Regions from separate parts of the Homo sapiens genome. Here regions 2 and 3 are each linked to region 1. The links are contacts of gene promoters, found by promoter capture Hi-C in blood cells and fetal thymus (Javierre and others, 2016). All regions are on one chromosome and are shown on one strand. The core of a region is centred on a gene start or on the middle of the fragment in contact, and the rest is flanking DNA. Distances in the headings are between cores, read along the strand shown. Region 1 holds the start of TCTN3 (tectonic family member 3). Region 2 overlaps OPALIN (oligodendrocytic myelin paranodal and inner loop protein). Region 3 has its middle 9.9 kb from the start of DNTT.

Region 1 (3,316 bases), core at 459-2,958:
AAGACCAAACACATATCTCCCATAGCTGTCTATCACACAACAACATAAAAACATATTTGAAAATATTTATAACACAGAGAGACTTTTAGCTACTGACTTCAAAACATTAGAAAATAAAGATCTTGTAAGAGAATTCAAGTAAAGTCAAATGTCCTAAAACTTACCTGAGTTAAATGATTCACTTGTAAAGGGAGGTGTTGACCAGATTTTAGGTAAGTGTACTAGATTTTAGATAACTCTTAACAGATGTTAATTTATATACTAAAACTAAATATCCAAAATAATCCAGATGTCAGAACCGTGGACATAGGAAAATACTGGGTCTAGGAGGAGCAATATTTTGATCATCTACAGTCCCACTGTACAATATGGTAGCTACTCACGTCTGTGGTTAACTTTGAATTAATTACAATTTAAAAATTAAAAATTCAGGCCAGGCACAGCGACTCACAGCTGTAATCCCAGCACTTTAGGAGGCCAAGGCGGGAGGGTCACTTGAGGTCAGGAATTCGAGACCAGCCTGGACAACATGGTGAAACCCCATCTCTACTAAAAATAAAAATAAAATTAGCCGGGCGTGGTGGCGCGTGCCTGTCATCCCAGCTACTCAGGAGGCTGAAACAGAAGAATCACCTGAATCCTAGAGGCAGAGGTTGCAGTGAGCTGAGATCACACCACTGCACTCCAGCCTGAGCGACAGAGCGAAACACCGTCTCAAAAAAAAAAAAAAAAAAAAAAATCAGCTCCTCAGTCACGCTAGCCACATTTCAAGCGCACAATTGCCACATAAGGCCGGTGACTACCATGCTGGACAGTGCAGCTACGGTACATTTCCAATACCGAAGGAAAGTCCCATGGCCCGCGCTGCTGTGGGGAATCGGAAGAGGCACGCCATTCCCGGGAAGAACAAAAACCTCCTAGAGAGGCTTAAAAAATTTGCCATTAACACGGGGAAAAAAATCTTCTATTTCCATTCCTCCATCTTATTTTCTCACCTCCTAGACAATGTTTCTTTTTTTTATTCTTTCTCTCCCTATTTTCTCACATTTTTCCTGCCCTTTTTTCTTATTTTTCTCTCACTGCTTTTTCTAACAACAAACATGCAGTCCATCTTTAATGATTTGATGCATTTCTTTAGGGTTTTCAAAATTTCTCAATGTTAAAATGTAAGGAGCTGAATGAACATTATTTCTAATGTGTTTTTTTTTTTTTTAAAAAAGCCATATTTAGAGGAGACTGTTTTTTAAGGTATGTGACCTTAGGTGTGTTTCCCCCACCTGAGAACATTATTCTTCCATAGAAAGGGTTTCTCACCGTTGGAATCCGGGGTGAAAAAAAATTTGCAATTCTAGTTCCGGCCTCTGGGGTTTCCTTGCACCGGAGGCCGGGCTCAGTCCTCTGGGCCGCGAAGTGGGCGCGGAACCTCTCGGTCCGCCGAACTCCTACCGCCACCTAGCGGAAGGAAGGCGCAAGGGCTTCTTCGTCACTGACGGTTGCCAGGCAACGGAGGCACGGCCCGGCCCGCGTTAAGGAGGAGGGCGCAGACCGAAGGACACTGAAAGAGCTGTAACAACCCCACTTTCGATTGGTTGAAGAGCTCTCAGCCTTCTCATGAGCCAATGAGAAGAGGCACGCGGATGGCGTCAGACGCTATGCGACTCCTCCCACCCACGCTCTGGCAATGCGATTGGAGACCGCGGAGGCCTACGTCGGACCCGGAGGCCCTGAATGCCCCATGCGCACCCCACAGCTCGCGCTCCTGCAAGTGTTCTTTCTGGTGTTCCCCGATGGCGTCCGGCCTCAGCCCTCTTCCTCCCCATCAGGGGCAGTGCCCACGTCTTTGGAGCTGCAGCGAGGGACGGATGGCGGAACCCTCCAGTCCCCTTCAGAGGCGACTGCAACTCGCCCGGCCGTGCCTGGACTCCCTACAGTGGTCCCTACTCTCGTGACTCCCTCGGCCCCTGGGAATAGGACTGTGGACCTCTTCCCAGGTGAGGGAAAACGTTGTGGGGGTGGAAACTTACTTCTGAGATCTAAAATTCTGTGAGCAAAGTTGAGCTGCCACAAAGCAGGAGTGGGGCTGTCGGAAGAAGGAGGGTGAGCACCTGGGAGAGTTTGGGGATCTTCATCCCACTCACTCTGTGTCGTACTTTCATAGTCTTACCGATCTGTGTCTGTGACTTGACTCCTGGAGCCTGCGATATAAATTGCTGCTGCGACAGGGACTGCTATCTTCTCCATCCGAGGACAGTTTTCTCCTTCTGCCTTCCAGGCAGCGTAAGGTGAGCTTCGTTGCTCAGACTGAATCCTAAAGGGGTTTGGGGCCTACAACGGGTAACATTTGGATGTAAGAAGAGTTAGTCTTTGTGCCTCCCACCCGTACTTCCACTCCTAGGACATTCCCTTGGTTTTTCCTAGGAATTGCCTTTTCTGATTCTCTAGAGCAGGGCTGGCCAGTAGAATAAGACCTTCGTGTCGTCCTATAGGTGCCCAAGGAGTCCTCTTTGGCATCATCTGGCCGATATTGCTGGGACACTCTTTTTTGGACCTGCCCCGCCCCTTCTAAATATATCTTCTCCCTCCTCTTTCCTCACAGGTCTTCAAGCTGGGTTTGTGTAGACAACTCTGTTATCTTCAGGAGTAATTCCCCGTTTCCTTCAAGAGTTTTCATGGATTCTAATGGAATCAGGCAGTTTTGTGTCCATGTGAACAACTGTGAGTAGAAACATGTTGGTTGTTCTCATTTTCTAACACAGGAGTGTTATATTTTGTCTTCCCTGGCCCACATTGGAAGAAGAATTGTCTTGGGCCACACGTAAAATACACTAACGATAGCTGATGAGTTAAAAACAACAACAAAAAAAAAGCAAAAAAAATGTCAAATGTTTTAAGAAAGTTTACAAATTTGTGTTGTTGGGCTGCATTCATAAGCCGTCCTGGGCTGCATGCGGCCGGTGGGTTGCAGGTTGGACAAGCTTGGTCTAACATTTATTGAGAATTGGCTTTTATTCTGGCCTTTTTTCCATTTCTTTTTTTTAAACTTTTTTTTTTTTTGTCCTTTGAATCTCTACGCCTCTTTCTGCCTCTTCTCTCTTATTACGGAATACATTTGCATTTTTGTTTTTTTTTGAGACGGAGCCTCCACCTATCGCCAGGAGTGCAGTGCAGTGGCACGATCTCAGCTCACTGCAACCTCCACCTCCCGGATTAAAGTGATTCTCCTGCCTTAGCTTCCCGAGTAGCTGGGACTATGGGTGTGTGCCACCATGACCAGCTAATTTTTGTATTTTTAGTAGAGACGGGGTTTTGCAATGTT
Region 2 (3,316 bases), core at 601-3,100, 650 kb before region 1:
CCCAGCATTTTGGGAGGCTGAGGCGGGTGAATCATCTGAGGTCAGGAGTTTGAGACCAGCCTGGCCAACATGGTGAAACCCTGTGTCTACTAAAAATACAAAAAATTAGCTGGGTGTGGTGGCGGTCGTCTGTAATCCCAGCTACTCGGGAGGCTGAGGGAAGAGAATCGCTTGAACCTGGTAGGTGGAGGTTGCAGTGAGCTGAGATCGCACCACTGCACTCCAGCCGGGTGACAAGAGCAAGACTCCATCTCAAAAAAAAAAATTAGAAAGTGTAACACTGAAAAGGAAGAAACAAAATTGTCATTATTTGCAGATGGTATGATTGTCGACATAGAAAAGCTAAATCTGGCTGGGTGCGGTGGCTCACGCCTGTAATCTCAGCACTTTGGGAGGCCAAGGCAGGTGGATCACCTGAGGTCAGGAGTTCTAGACCAGCCTGGCCAACATGGTGAACCCCATCTCTACTAAAAACACAAAAGTTAGCCAGGTGTGGTGGCAGGTGCCTGTAATCCCAGCTACTTCGTGGGGGGCTGAAGCAGGAGAATCACTTGAACCTGGGAGGCAGAGGTTGCAGTGAGCTGAGATCACACCATCACACTCCAGCCTGGGGGACAAGAGTGAGACTTCATCTTAAAAAAAGAAAAAAAAAAGAAAGAAAGGAAGAAAGAAAGAAAGAAAAGAAAAGCTAAATCTACAGAAAAATTACTTGAATTAACAAGAAATTTTAACAAGTTTACTGGATACAAAAATCAATATATAAAAGTAATTTATACTTTCAACATCAACAACAATTAGAAAAAGTGATTTTAAAAATTACCATTTGTGATGGTAATTGGTATTAAAATATGTAGAATGCTATGGAATAAATCTAACAAAAATATGTAATACCTTTATGGAAAATAATAAAACTTTGGTTAAAAAACCCATTAAATAATACCTAAATAATGGGGGTTGCATACTATGCTCCTGGATAGAAAGTGTTAATAACATAACGATGTCAAACAATGTTGATCTATATAACAGATGTAATTTCAATATAAATCCCAATCAATTTTTTTCATGGAACTTAATGAGGTTCTTCTAAAATCTATATGAAATAAAGTAGAAAAAGAGTTAAAAAGACACAACAAACAGGTAGAACAAACAGAAAACAAATAGCAAGATGGTAGATTTAAACCCAACCATATCAATGATCACATTAAATGTAAATGGTCTAGATACCCGAATTAACAGGAAGAGATTTCACATTGGCTATAAAAACAAGGTCCAATCATATGATGCCTACAAAACTCACTTTAAATATAAATACACAAATAGATTAACAGTTAAAAGACAAAAAATGAGAAACTTTGTTAACAATAAACAAAAGATAGTTGAGTGGCCTGAAAGCTCTCCCAAAGCAGTAAGATCAGGTAATTGTGGGTCTCTCCTCATTTGTTTTCTGTCTCTCCAGGACCATTGTCCCTCCTTGCCTGTTGTCTAGTGTCTTGAAAACTATTGCTTCAAATGTTGTGTCTGATTTTGGTTATTTCAGGTGGGAGGGTCAATGTGGTTGCTGTTAGTCCATCTTGTATGAAAGAATTCTCTGCTGTAGTTTTTAAAAAACCTATTTGTTTCCTTAAGAATCCTAGGAGATCACCCACACATGAGAAGAATACGATGGGAGCACAAGAGGCCCACATATATGTGAAGACTGTAGCAGGAAGCGAGGAACCTGTGCATGACCGTTACCGTCCTACTATAGAAATGGAAAGAAGGAGGGGATTGTGGTGGCTTGTGCCCAGACTGAGCCTGGAATGATGCAGCTCAGTCAAGGAGCAGCAGACCTGGCACTGGAACAGGGTTGAAAACCCAGGGTTTTGTACTTGGAGAGGAAAGATGCCAAGCTGCTTCTTAATCAATCCAAATTTCATTTACAGCTCTGGAACACTTTGGGGCTGATTTGTCTCTTTAGGGGACATCCCCAACATGGTTAATTCCAACTCTCAGATCTTGTGCTTTAGTTAGTACATGTGACTCACCAGATGGGGTCCTTAGATCCTATTCCTGCTCCCAGTGGGAATTTGCTTTTCTTTGTCATTTTGGGAAAGGGGCTTGGTTTCTGAGTGTCTTGCCTTCTCATCTTTTTTTTTCATATCCTTTTTCTCAAAAAAGCCATCAGATCTGACTTTCATGGAAGTGTTGCTGAGGTCAGCCTGGTGCAAGTTGGGATACAAATGAAACTTATGCAGGATGTGTGAGAGGAAGCAGTTAATTGTTTCTGAATATCTCAGGGTAGGAACCATGTGGAGCCACACATTCCCTGACCACAGGGAAGCACCTGGCTCAATCATGTCACACAGCAGTGGAAAGAATACGGACTCTTAAGTCACACCTACCACTGAGCAGCTGTACGACTTTGGAGAAGTTGTTTAACATTTTCAAGCCTCAGTTTTTGCTTTTTTAAAGGAGGGGAAATATTTGCCTCATGTCATAATTGAAAAGATTAAATAAGAAATAAAGGGAAGTGTCTGCTACTTAGTTGCCAGTCAAAATGTTAGTTCTCTCTCTCTACCACCTTCTTCCTACCTCTTCCCATATTGCTTGCCTGATAAAACAGCTAATCACCAGCATTTGTTCCCCATAGTCACAGGGCCACACAAGGGAACATTTAGGACAAACTTTCTCCATGGCCTATGATCCAAATTGTTATCTAAAGATGATTCTAGGTGTTGCTGGTAGTATGTGAATCTTCCAATCTAGGTGTGATCGTGTCCTCATATGAATCAGGAAAAGGCAGTTTCTTACAAGTTCCGAATTCCAAATACAGAGACTGGTGGTGTTACATTTAACCTTAAAGATGTTAATGTTGATGGAAATTCATGTTTCATATTAAAACAACACTTTGTCTTTACAATGAAACATTTTGCTTAATTTTTAAAGTAAGACATTATGATACCTCTGATGGCAGTTCCTCAAATAACTTTAACTTTTGTGCTTTAGGGATAGTTGTTAAAGTTACAACTTCTTTTATTTTATTTTTTAAAGGCTTCAGATTAAACAAGAGCCCTTAAGCCCACGCATAGCATTGCCGCTTCAGCTTGCTGAGGACTGTCTCCAAGGAGGCCAAATGGAAAAGGAGAGGCTACTTCAAGTGGTGTTGGCCCATTGAGCCTATTGGGCAAACTATAACCAGGTTGCCTTATTTTGGGTGGATTACTCCAGGAGAGGCCACCCTCCAGCTTTCTCTTATCCCAGTAACTCCTCTTCCCATTTTCCAATCCATCCCCAGCCTTTTTTTTTTTTCTTCTGTACTCTTCTTTTGCCTTCAATA
Region 3 (3,316 bases), core at 306-2,805, 600 kb before region 1:
CTATTAGATTGGCTGAGATCTGTACTACAATCAAATAGTGGTTCAACTCTTTCTCTGCCCAATCTCCTCCTTCATGCTCCCATAGATGATGATCCCAAGGGCATCCCCAATAGACTTCTGCACACAAATTCCCATCTCAGGGCTGGCTTCCTGGGAACTCACCTTAATAACACATTGTTGATACTTACCCTGTTTCAATTACCTTCTGCCCCTGACCACCTTCCTTTATGTAGACAAGTATGGCTCGTCTTCCCATTTAGAGTGTAACCTTCTTTGTATGTCTTAGAGGGCTTAGCACATGTCTTTGTACATAGATGACAGCCCAAAGTATAGGCTGTGAACACCATTCCTCTTCCATCCAGAGAGACCAGTGAGAATTCTGTCAGTGACACACCCCTAATGCATAGAAGGGGAGAGCTCAGGCCCACAAGTGTTTGTGCCAAACCATTTATCTAAAGCTGGTTTTGCTGGGGATGCAGCCAAAACCCTCTCTTATTCTTTGCCAGGAAGTGAAAGTCTTTCATCACCACCTGGGAGGAAAAAGGGGTTCAACGGCCCAGCAGAAACAATGTCACATCGTGAATTTGGTACCAAACTCAGCTCTCAATGCAACGAATTTGAGATTTATTTTAAACGTGTGTTTCTCAGAGAGAATAATTTGATGGGGGTAGGGGGAAGTAGGGACTCACTTTCAACATAGTAATCTTTTTTTATAAAGCTCTGTGAGTAATTGTTTACTTTTTAAAAATAACAAAATCTCATATTCAATATTTTTAAATTGTGGAGGTAATAGTTTATAATTAGGTGCTAAATGGTGTGATTATATTTAACTGAAATGTTTTAACTTGGTGAAAAAGGGCCTAGCTCCTTTCCAAAGCTTCTGAGAGAGCAGATTACTTATTCTCAGCGGAAGTAAACCTATGTACTACTAGTAAATCTCAGCTCTATTAGAAAGGGCAGAAGAGTGTCCAACAGAAAGAACTTCTACTGGAGGAAGAGGTTTGCCTTAGATAACTTAGGAGGAGGGCACAGGGAGAGAAGGGGAAGAGTGCCAGGAAAATCCAAGAGGAGGCTGGCAGCTCTTAGAGGAAAACTAGGTAAATTCCACACATTGGAGTCTCCCAGATCACCAGGGTGTCTTAGTCACTTCAGGATGCTGTAACAAAATTACCAGAGAAGTTTATTTCTCTCCATTCTAGAGTCTGGGAAATCCAACATCAAGGTGCCAGCTGAAAAGTTTCCTGGTGAGGGCACTAGCTCTGGTTTGCAGATGGCCACCTTCTTGCTGTATCCTCACATGGTGGGGAACGAGATCATCTCTCTCGTGTTTCCTCCTTTAAGGGCACTAATCCCGTTCAGGAGGGCTCCACACTCATGTCCTAATTACTCCCAAAGGTATAACTCCAAATACACCTAATCTCAAATGGGGGATTAAGGCAAAAACATGTGAATTTGTGGATGAAACAAACATTCAGCCCAGAGCAATGGATACAAAGCAAAAACAAACAAACAAAAACCCAGTTTGCCTGTTACATGAATACATTGTTACATAAATATTTGTTCTCTGTGTAGAACTTTGGTTCACAACCCTGGCTACACAATAAACTACCTGAGTTTTTAAAATATCAGTGAACAGGCTCCATTGCACACTAATAGAATCTGAATCCCAAAGGGTGGGGGTGGGGGTGAGTATTCATGTTTTTTACAAACTCCATAGTTATCCTCCTGTGCCACCGACCTTGAAAAACCACTGGTTTAGAATATTTGTTGAGCACGGCTGAGATGGATAACTCCAGTTGTCCTCCTTCATGTAAAGCTAAAAAGATAGAGAGGCATAGACTCCTTCCCTACTCTCTATTGATATTTGGGTTTGTTAAATTAAACAACTACTTTTAATTGGTGAGGCATTTTCCTTTATAGTCTGGACAACTCAAACTTGCACCACCAAGCCCTTGCCAGATGGCAGAAAGCAGGGCATTGGAAGGTATTTCCTCCCTGTTGAGTACCAGCTCCACTTCACCAGCCAACCCATGAGACAGTGTTCTACAATGCCACAAAGACAAATAGCCACATGCGTCTCCCATGTACCCGGATACCACCTTGAAGGGAAGGGACAGAACTTTGAAAGATATTACATTTCCTGAAGTTATCAAAGCAGAGAAAACTGAATTATCTGATGGGACAGTTAAAACTATTGGATTGGACTGAAATGGCAAGATGGAACTAAGCTTTAGTTCTTTTCCCACATCCCAGCAAGAAGAAAGTAAATCAGCTCTTCTATAGACAAAATAACAAAGCTCACATTTTCTCTGTATACATAAGGAAAGGTGAGGGATTTTGGACCCTGAAACATGAGTTTATGAATATACACATGCATACATCCATTTGCATGTGCATATGTGGATATGCACATTCACGCACTGTAGACCAAGGCAGAGAAAACTAGGACTTAAGAGTGCAGCCAACAGTGGGCTGCACCTGGCGTGTTCTGGGATTCTGGTGGCAGAGAAGGAATACCGGCTTCTTGGGAGCAAATCCTGACATACAAGTGTGGGAAATGCGGCAAAATGAAACTTGTTGAGCGCTGTTGACAAGACAATTTTTCTGGGAACTAGTGCAGTCATTCAGTGAGCCGGCCAGACAGAGCAGAGTTCATTTCAGATGTTTCTATTGTCCCAGACATGGGAGTTCTACTTGTCACCATTTGGTGTCAGTATTTTCTATCCTAAAAGTCCTCTGGGTTATAAAGCAAAGGCCCTGTTGGAGAAAGTCTGGAGTATTTTACTGTGAATAACTAACTTTATTTCAGAAAATTTTAATATTCCTTTTAGCCTTCACTGCTTTGTTTTCTGCTTTGTAATTGTTTTTCTTTGTGCAGAAAAAAGGCAGCATTCTCTTTATCTGCAAAGGCAAACATCAGAATTACACCATTCATTCATTTGACCAACAAATCTTGAGGACCAGCATCTTGTAACACAAGTCCCTCCACCTACAGAGCTTTTCGGATTCTAGAGGGCAACATGCTCAGGGCAGAGGCAGGTGTTGGAGGCAGCAGTTCTGTAGAAAGAAAAGCTAGCCCTGGCTTTGAGCCTGGTTTTGCCACTTAGCAGCTATGTGGCTGTGGGCAATAAACTTAACCTCTCTGAGCTGCAGTCTCTTCATACATAAAACATACATAATAAACACTTTTCTTCCAATTTTATCATGAAAATTAAAGAAGTTGAGGGATGCCTAGGCAGAGCACAGGGGATGTTTAGGGCAGTGAAGCTACTCTGTATGACACTTATAATGGTCATTATACGTTTACCCAAACCCA

Evidence for each region. The method cuts DNA at HindIII sites, captures the fragments that hold promoters and counts their contacts. A CHiCAGO score of 5 or more calls a contact.
Region 2: a contact is called between a fragment that was not itself captured here and the fragment with the promoter of TCTN3 in region 1, in 1 of 17 cell types (naive CD4 T cells). The highest score is 5.7, in naive CD4 T cells.
Region 3: a contact is called between a fragment that was not itself captured here and the fragment with the promoter of TCTN3 in region 1, in 9 of 17 cell types (naive CD4 T cells, megakaryocytes, non-activated CD4 T cells and 6 more). The highest score is 14.5, in naive CD4 T cells.

Annotation. Positions count from the first base shown.
Region 1 is chr10:95,692,319-95,695,634 of GRCh38, reverse strand. It overlaps TCTN3 (tectonic family member 3), which reads left to right and starts at 1,708. Exons shown (of 14, transcript NM_015631.6): 1 at 1,708-1,991; 2 at 2,159-2,282; 3 at 2,597-2,715. The coding sequence starts at 1,736. It also overlaps a transcript of ENTPD1 not described here. RefSeq lists enhancers at 748-1,249, 1,724-2,003. The HindIII fragment of the contact is 4,584 bases long and covers 1-2,977 here.
Region 2 is chr10:96,344,428-96,347,743 of GRCh38, reverse strand. OPALIN (oligodendrocytic myelin paranodal and inner loop protein) reads left to right here. Exons shown (of 6, transcript NM_033207.5): 6 at 1,627-3,316. The coding sequence ends at 1,803. Among named protein-coding and RNA genes, the nearest start is that of OPALIN, 13 kb to the left of the region's middle. RefSeq lists an enhancer at 2,106-2,872. The HindIII fragment of the contact is 6,945 bases long and covers 1-3,316 here.
Region 3 is chr10:96,292,853-96,296,168 of GRCh38, reverse strand. No RefSeq gene overlaps it. Among named protein-coding and RNA genes, the nearest start is that of DNTT, 9.9 kb to the left of the region's middle. The HindIII fragment of the contact is 1,351 bases long and covers 880-2,230 here.